2 separate regions of the Homo sapiens genome follow, and region 2 is linked to region 1. The links are contacts of gene promoters, found by promoter capture Hi-C in blood cells and fetal thymus (Javierre and others, 2016). All regions are on one chromosome and are shown on one strand. Each heading gives the region's core, a stretch centred on a gene start or on the middle of the fragment in contact. The rest is flanking DNA. Distances are from core to core; before and after follow the strand shown. Region 1 holds the start of TRIM47 (tripartite motif containing 47). Region 2 holds the start of UBE2O (ubiquitin conjugating enzyme E2 O).

Region 1 (4,083 bases), core at 1,584-4,083:
ACTGTGAGGAGTGTCTGTTGTGTATAAGCCACCCAGTCTCTGGTGTTCTGGGATAGCAGCCCAGACACACTAAGACAGGGGTTCCTGAGTGCCTGGAGAGCCAGCTCCCTCCCCAAGAGGCTGGGTCCCTCCTTCTTTCTTTCTTCTTTTCTTTTCTTTTTTTTTTTTTTTTTTTTTTGAGATGGAGTCTCGCTGTGTCACCGAGGCTGGAGAGTACAGTGGCACAACCTCTGCCTCCTTGGTTCAAGCGATTCTCCTGCCTCAGACTCCCGAGTAGCTGGGAATACAAGTGTGTGCACCACCACGCCCGGCTAATTTTTTTGTATTTTTAGTAGAGATGGGGTTTCGCCATGTTAACCAGGCTGGTCTGGAACTCGTGACCTCAAGTGATCCGCCCGCCTCAGCCTCCCAAAGTCCTGGGATTCCAGGCGTGAGCCACCACACCCGGCACATTTGTGCTCTTTTGCTTGTGTTTTCTCCTCTTTAGCTCTGAACTCATGAAGTGCCTTCTGAACATTTCTAGTCTGGTCTCAGGGGACCTGAGGGTATTTTCCCACCCCCCAAGCCTAGAGAGCTGGGGAAACAGAGGCAGGAATGCAGACCCGGTGGGAGAGGTGGACAAGGGTTTGGGTGTGGGACAAGCAGCAGTGTGTGCTGAGGTTTAGGGAAGGGCCAGGGTCCTGGAACACAGAGAGGGCCAGGAACACCGGGGGACATGCATGACCTCTAGCACATTTGGGCCTGGGCCTCTCTCCAACATTTCCTTACTTATGCACTGTTATAGGTTGAATCCTGTTCCCTGAAAAAGACGTATTCGGATCCTAACCCCCAGGACCTGTGGCTGTGACCTTATTTGGAAATAGAGTATTTTCAGATGTGACTGAGTTAAGATGAGGGCATACTGGAGTAGAGCGTGCCCTAATCCAACAACTGGTGTCCTGATAAGAGGAAATGGGCACCGGGCACAGTGGCTCACGCCTGTAATCCTAGCACTTTGGGAGGCTGAGGCAGGCAGATTACTCGAGCCCAGCAGTTTGAGTGGGCAACAGAGCAAGACTCCCTAAAAAAAAAAAAAAAAAGGACATTTGAACACAGACACAGAGAAAAGGCAAATGACAACAGAGACTGATATTAGAGCGCATCTTACAGCTACAAGCCAAGGAACGCCAAGAATTGCCAGCCAGTACCAGAAGCTGGGACAGACGCCCAGGACAGAGTCTCCCTCAGATCCTGCAGAAGGAAGCCACGCTGCAGCACCTTACTGAAACACAGCATTTCTTTCTATTCCAAATGGAGAGAATACACCAGAGTGGTATGAGCAGTTACCTGTGACTTTGTCACTAACCAAAATTACAGATATCTCTGGGTGCGGTGGCTCATGTCTGTAATCCCAGCACTTTGGGAGGCCGAGGCGGGTGGATCACCTGAAGTCAGCAGTTCGAGACCAGCTTGGCCAACATGGTGAAACCCCGTCTCTACTAAAAATACAAAAATTAGCCAAATGTGGTGGCGGGCGCCTGTAATCCCAGCTACTCAAGAGTCCGAGGAGGGAGAATCGCTTGAACCCAGGAGACAGAGGTTGCAGTGAGCTGAGATTGCGCCACTGCACTCCAGCCTGGGCGACAAGAGCGAAACTCCATCTAAAAAAATAAAAATAAAAAAACATTATTTGGAATTTTCAATGCGAAATATGTCTGTTCTCCCCAGCTTGTTAATTTATTATTTATTTATATCGGCATGGACTCATAGATGTTTATTTTACACTTTGGGTTATAATCAGTGCTACTTTACTTATTTTGTTGTCATTCTGGTGTAGTGTTTTAACTTAACATTATTGAGATATAACTCATACAATAAAACGCACCACTTTAAGTGCATAATTAGATGAGCTTTAAATACTTCCAGTTGGGGAACCCCCAACCCCACCACAGGTGTCCCCAGTGTCCAGGGGCCAGAACTACATTCCTCAGACAAGGGACTTAGGGAATGACGTCAACTTCCCATTTCAGGTCTAGAAAAGTCCAAGTTCCCTACTTGGGGTAAAGAGTCGCTAAAGGAGCTGGGCGCTGTGGCTCACGCCTGTAATCCCAGCACTTTGGGAGGCCGAGGCAGGTGGATCACCTGAGGTCACGAGTTCAAGACCAGCCTGGACAAGGTGAAACTCCGTCTCTACAAAAAAATACAAAAATTTGCCTGGTGTGGTGGCAAGCGCCTATAATTCCAGCTACTTGGGAGGCTAAGGCAGGAGAATCACTTGAATCCGGGAGGCGGAGGTTGCAGTGAGCCGAGATAGCGCCCCTGCACTCCAGCCTGGGCGACAAGAGAGGAACTCTGTCTCAAAAAAAAAAAAAAAAAGAGTCGCTAAGGGGCAAAAACATATGTACATCAGCAGTTATTTTTCTCTGCAGTCAGCAGCTCAGGAACTTTGCTAAGGGTGCCAGGGAGGGGTCGAGCGCAAAGGTGCAGGCATGACACAGCTAGACGCGCCCAGCCCCTGCGGAGCGCTGGCCTGGCCCAGAAGGACCAGAGGGATGGAGGCTGAGTCCTTCCCATTCCTTCCACTGTACCTCTCGCGTTCTCCGCCCGCGCTCACTCAGTTTCACACCCTTTCAGCAGCGCCCTTCCTTAGGACCACGCGGACTCCCCTGGGGGTCGCGCGGGCTCGGAGGCCTCCCTGCGTTGTCTGGGCGGGGACTGGGAGTCCGCGGGCCCGCAGGCGGGCGGTGCTGCGGGGCGGGCCGAGCTGGGGGCGGGCGGGGGCCGGAGCCCTGGCCTAGGTCCCAGGGGGAGGTGCCGCGGCGCGAACGGCCCGGGTCCCTCCCAGGCCGGAGCACAATCGGCGGCGCCCTGGGCGGCCGCGGAGTCATGGACGGCAGTGGACCCTTCAGCTGCCCCATCTGCCTAGAGCCACTCCGGGAGCCGGTGACGCTGCCCTGCGGCCACAACTTCTGTCTCGCCTGCCTGGGCGCGCTCTGGCCGCATCGTGGCGCGAGTGGAGCCGGCGGACCCGGAGGCGCGGCCCGCTGCCCGCTGTGCCAGGAGCCCTTCCCCGACGGCCTTCAGCTCCGCAAGAACCACACGCTGTCCGAGCTGCTGCAGCTCCGCCAGGGCTCGGGCCCCGGGTCCGGCCCCGGCCCGGCCCCTGCCCTGGCCCCGGAGCCCTCGGCACCCAGCGCGCTGCCCAGTGTCCCGGAGCCGTCGGCCCCCTGCGCTCCCGAGCCGTGGCCCGCGGGCGAAGAGCCAGTGCGCTGCGACGCGTGCCCCGAGGGCGCGGCCCTGCCCGCCGCGCTGTCCTGCCTCTCCTGCCTCGCCTCCTTTTGCCCCGCGCACCTGGGCCCGCACGAGCGCAGCCCCGCCCTCCGCGGACACCGCCTGGTGCCGCCGCTGCGCCGGCTAGAGGAGAGCCTGTGCCCGCGCCACCTACGGCCGCTCGAGCGCTACTGCCGCGCGGAGCGCGTGTGTCTGTGCGAGGCCTGCGCCGCACAGGAGCACCGCGGCCACGAGCTGGTGCCGCTGGAGCAGGAGCGCGCGCTTCAGGAGGTGGGCTCCGGGGGCACACTCGGGTGAGCCGGGGCTGGTGACCGACCGCGCGCGAGCGGGCCGAGGACCTTGGACCCCCCAGTCTTCCCGGGTTGGGTCTTAATCTCCTCCTCTAACCTGAGGATCTTTGCGGTCCCTTCCAGCCTTGACAAGGTCATCTGCTGGCGGTGATGGAGATGGGAAGGGAGGAAGGAGGGACGTGAGAACAGGACAAGGACGCGAAGAGCGGGCAGGGGACCTGAAGCCGGGCCGGGGTCTATGGGGGTGTAGGCGGGAGGGAGCCGGGTTAGGCCCGCGGGGTTCCGGTAGCGTGGCTGCTGCTCCCGCCCGGAGGGTCACGCCGGTCTCAGCTCAGATTTGCCCTGGGCTGAGGCAGCAGCTTTCGATGGGTGTGGCAGGCGGCAGGAGGGCGGCAGAGGGCGACCGGGCACACAGATTCTCTGTCCAGCTGTTCCGGGGGCCAGTGGTGGGAGCATGTGAGCCGCGGCCTCTACCTCCCGCCCCCAGTTTCCTTTGGCCTCCAGCCCGGTCTTGGCGCCTCTG
Region 2 (4,083 bases), core at 486-2,985, 570 kb before region 1:
CCAAAGTGCTGGGATTACAGGCAAGAGCCACCACATCCAGCCTTTTTTTTGTTTTTTGTTTTTTGAGACAGAGTCCTGCTCTGTTGCCAAGGCTGGAGTGTAGTGGCATGATCTCGGCTCACTGCAACTTCTGCCTCCCAGATTCAAGCAATTCTCCTGCCTCAGCCTCCCAAGTAGCTGGGACTACAGGTGCACACCACCACGCCCAGCTAATTTTTGTACTTTTAGTAGAGAAGGGATTTCGCCATGTTGGCCAGGGCGGTCTTGAACTCCTGACCTCAGGTGATCAGGTGATCCATCTGCTTCTGCCTCCCAAAGTGCTGGGATTACAGGCATGAGCCACCACGCCTGGCCCTAGAGTTACTTTTTATATTTTATTTATTTTTATTTATTTATTTTTTTGAGACAGAGTCTTGCTCTGTTGCCCAGGGTGGAGTGCAGTGGCGCGATCTGGGCTCACTGCAACCTCAGCCTCCCAGGTTCAAGCGATTTGCCTGCCTCAGCCTCCTGAGTAGCTGGGACTACAGCCATGTGCCACCACGCCCAGCTATTTTTTTTTTTTTTCCGTATTTTTAGTAGAGATGGGGTTTCGCCATGTTGGCCAGGATGGTCTCAATCTCTTGACCTCGTGATCCGCCCACCTCAGCCTCCCAAAGTACTGGGATGACAGGTGTGAGCTGCCGCGCCCGGCCTACTTTTTATATTTTAAAATGACAATATGGAGCAGACCATAACAGTTCTGCCAGTCTGGAATTTAGTCTAGGCAGGGAGTTTGGAAATAGTACAACAATGGTTAAGCTTATCGAAGGAGCTAAATGCCAGGCACTGTTCTACTTCACTTAATCCTCCAATTGCCCAATGAGATGAGTATTGCTATTATCATCCCTATTTCACAGATGAGCAAATTAAGATGAAAATAAGTTAATCAGTGTGCCTATTTTTATAGATTAGTAAGTGGCAGTGCCAAAAATTGGAATCCGTGGTCCCCACTCTTAGCTACCTTACTATACTACCTCTTGCCATTCATTCTTGGCTTCAGGGAGCTTTGAATTTATCTGCATGGATTTGTAGCCAAACCACTGGGACCACTGATCCTTTTGTTACCTTTCTCTGGGCCTCCTTCACCAGCTTCTGGGTCAACTTCTGAGGGGTCATGACGTTCGAACTGCTTGGAATTCCTGAATACAGTGCATTATACATATGCTCTACACGTATCTATTATAGCCTTACAAGTTGGAGTTGTTTGTTATCTATTTAATGTGTATTTGTTTTGTCTCCCCAACTAGACTGGAAACACCTAGAGGACAGGGACAGTATCTTTCTCTTTCTGCAATGCTCCCAGTGCCTGGGGGCTAGGCTAGGACGCCAAGGGAGCTCATTAAAAGTTGTTGACAGTCTCTCCACCATCCTGTGCCCCACCCCGACCACTCCCCTCTTCCTCGGTGGCCACTCCACTTCCTCCTCCCGGGTCCCCGCCCCTTCTCGCTCCCTTTAGTTGAATCCTCACTGGTCTCGCCCCTTCTTAGTGGATTCCATCCTGCCCCCGCCCCCCGCGGCATCTTCAGCGTCCCCTAGCGACGAGGCGGTGGCTCCTAGCAACTGCATCCCGGCTCCCTGACGACGGCGCCACGCAGGGACACGTCAGCGCGCTATGGCCCCGCCCCCGGCGCCCGCTGGTCCCGCCTCCCCGCGCCTCGTTCGCCGCCGCTGTCGCCGCCGCCGCCCGAGACTCGCGCAGAGCAGTTATGGCGGATCCCGCAGCCCCCACGCCCGCAGCTCCCGCTCCAGCCCAGGCCCCGGCTCCAGCCCCGGAGGCAGTCCCGGCCCCAGCCGCAGCCCCCGTCCCGGCGCCGGCGCCCGCCTCGGACTCGGCCTCCGGGCCGTCCTCGGACTCCGGCCCAGAAGCCGGCTCGCAGCGCCTGCTGTTTTCTCACGACCTGGTGTCGGGCCGTTACCGTGGCTCCGTGCACTTCGGGCTGGTGCGCCTCATCCACGGCGAGGACTCGGACTCGGAGGGCGAGGAGGAGGGCCGCGGGAGCTCGGGGTGCTCCGAGGCCGGGGGCGCGGGCCACGAGGAGGGCCGGGCCAGCCCCCTGCGCCGCGGCTACGTGCGCGTCCAGTGGTACCCGGAGGGCGTCAAGCAGCATGTGAAGGAGACCAAGGTGCGGCGGGCGGGGGCTGGGCGGCGCGGGCGGCAGGGGGTCGGCGGCCGGGCCGAGGCCAGGGAAGGACGGCGTGCAGGGCCCTGCCCGGAGCGGTGCCACTGCAGTGGCCGACGCGGGAGGACAGCCCCAGTGGAGGGTACACTCCATGCAAAGTCATTGCAGCAGCTCTGGGCGCACACGCCAGCCAGGCACTGCTGGCCCGGGACCGGGCGGGCCCTGGGCTTCCCGACTTGAGGGGACTTCTAAGACATGTTATGCTGTGGTGTCGGCCTCGAGATTTAGAGACGTGGACCGACTCCCGTGGGGACTCAGGTTCTGGGGCGCGTTCGGCGTTACACCAGTGCGGCGTTTTGCTGACCCCCAAGGAGCTCGGTACTGCATTGTGCATCCAGAAATGAAGGCCGTGCCGGGTCCGTGCAGGGAGGGGTTGTGGGCATTCCAAAACAAAGATAGAGGTGAAAATCCCAGCCGAACCCAAGAAGTTCACTAGCTTACAGGCTGCATTATGGTGAAGCCACCCAGCCTCTTTTTGTTTTACCCTGCTGCCTCCTTTTAATTGCTGCAGGGAACTTTGTGAGTAAAATCATTAGCAATCAGAGCCCCGGTATGAATAGTACTTGGGGGGGAGGATTCTGACAGCTGCGACCGGGATTGATGACTCCTAAGTGCATATGGACTCCTTGAAAAAAATAATCCAGAACCCTGGGTAGAGGGGAGTCACCAATTTGGAAACCCGAAGGTTTTTTCTTGACCTGAAGCTGTTAAGCAGACATCTGACTCCCGTATGGTTTTTGGGGTGATGCTAGTGAGTATAGCAGTTTTACAAAACAAAGAGGCTTGTCATCATAAACCCGAAACCTTGAACCCGGGTTGGTTTGGTGGCTTGTTTTCCAGAATGTGAATTCCTATCAGTAATTGACACACACACACACACACACACACCCCCCTGTATCTCACACCCCTTCTTTCTCTCCTACTTCCCCTCCCCTTCAAGAAAACATTTCTAAGCAGGAATCAGGCCTACGCTGTTTTAGGTCCTTGGGAGGTTGAGAGGTCTGATTTCAGGGGAGGGCACTTTGGAAGTTGATCTGGGTTTCTCACACAGTGGGAGACAAAGACTACAGAGGAACGGGGTTTCATGTCAAACTACAAAGCGGGGTCTGTGACAACGGCTTGAGAAGGAAAAAGGCCCCACTCCAGAGAAGAGCACATGATCCATTTCCTAGAGGCAGAAGTGACTGCTGATACCAGCGGGGTCTTTTTGTTGGGGATGCACATACATCCACAGACACAAATCCACACACAGGACCCTGCTTCCCCTCAGAGAAATGTGAATCAGGCAACAGCTCTGAGACTTGGAAGGAAAATTATCAGTCCATTTACAAGAGTATTTGGAAAATATTACTTTTGTGCAACAGAATGCTTGTTAAAAATTACCCAGTATTGTGTCAGTAAAAGAGGGTTATTGCTGTATACTGTGTGACACCAGATGATTGCTGGTGTCTTTCTGTGAGTTTTTAAGAATGTTTTTCACCACCCATCTATTTGAGAGATTCGTGATTTTTGGAACGCAACTCATTTGACTGCAGCATCCTCTGTGTTGTGGCCTCCTGCCCTAGGACTCAGGGAGGTAGGCCCAGCTCACTACTGGGAGCCGCTATGTTTATCAGTTGTTGTTCCCGTCCGTCTTGACTTTGGTGGTTAACTTTGTTTGCAGTTATGCTCCGTTTGCCTCCTGCACTATGTGTAATTATACAGAGTTTGACTTGAAATACCTATTTTGGAGTTAAATCGAAAACAACGGCCGGGTGTGGTAGCTCATGCCTGTAATCCCAGCACTTGGGAGGCCGAGGCGGGCGGATCACCTGAGGTCAGGAGTTCGAGACCAGCCTGACCAACATGGAGAAACCCTGTCTCT

The links. The method cuts DNA at HindIII sites, captures the fragments that hold promoters and counts their contacts. A CHiCAGO score of 5 or more calls a contact.
Region 2: the fragment with the promoter of UBE2O here is called in contact with the fragment with the promoter of TRIM47 in region 1 in 7 of 17 cell types (naive CD8 T cells, non-activated CD4 T cells, activated CD4 T cells and 4 more); the score reaches 9.3 in naive CD8 T cells.

What each region holds. Positions count from the first base shown.
Region 1 is chr17:75,877,331-75,881,413 of GRCh38, reverse strand. It overlaps TRIM47 (tripartite motif containing 47), which reads left to right and starts at 2,833. Exons shown (of 6, transcript NM_033452.3): 1 at 2,833-3,540. The coding sequence starts at 2,866. It also overlaps a transcript of TRIM65 not described here. RefSeq lists silencers at 2,649-2,998, 3,129-3,508, 3,519-3,698 and enhancers at 2,543-3,458, 3,459-4,083. The HindIII fragment of the contact is 18,500 bases long and covers 1-4,083 here.
Region 2 is chr17:76,450,804-76,454,886 of GRCh38, reverse strand. UBE2O (ubiquitin conjugating enzyme E2 O) reads left to right here and starts at 1,735. Exons shown (of 18, transcript NM_022066.4): 1 at 1,735-2,162. The coding sequence starts at 1,746. It also overlaps a transcript of AANAT not described here. RefSeq lists silencers at 1,561-1,729, 1,524-2,063, 2,184-2,383. The HindIII fragment of the contact is 7,923 bases long and covers 801-4,083 here.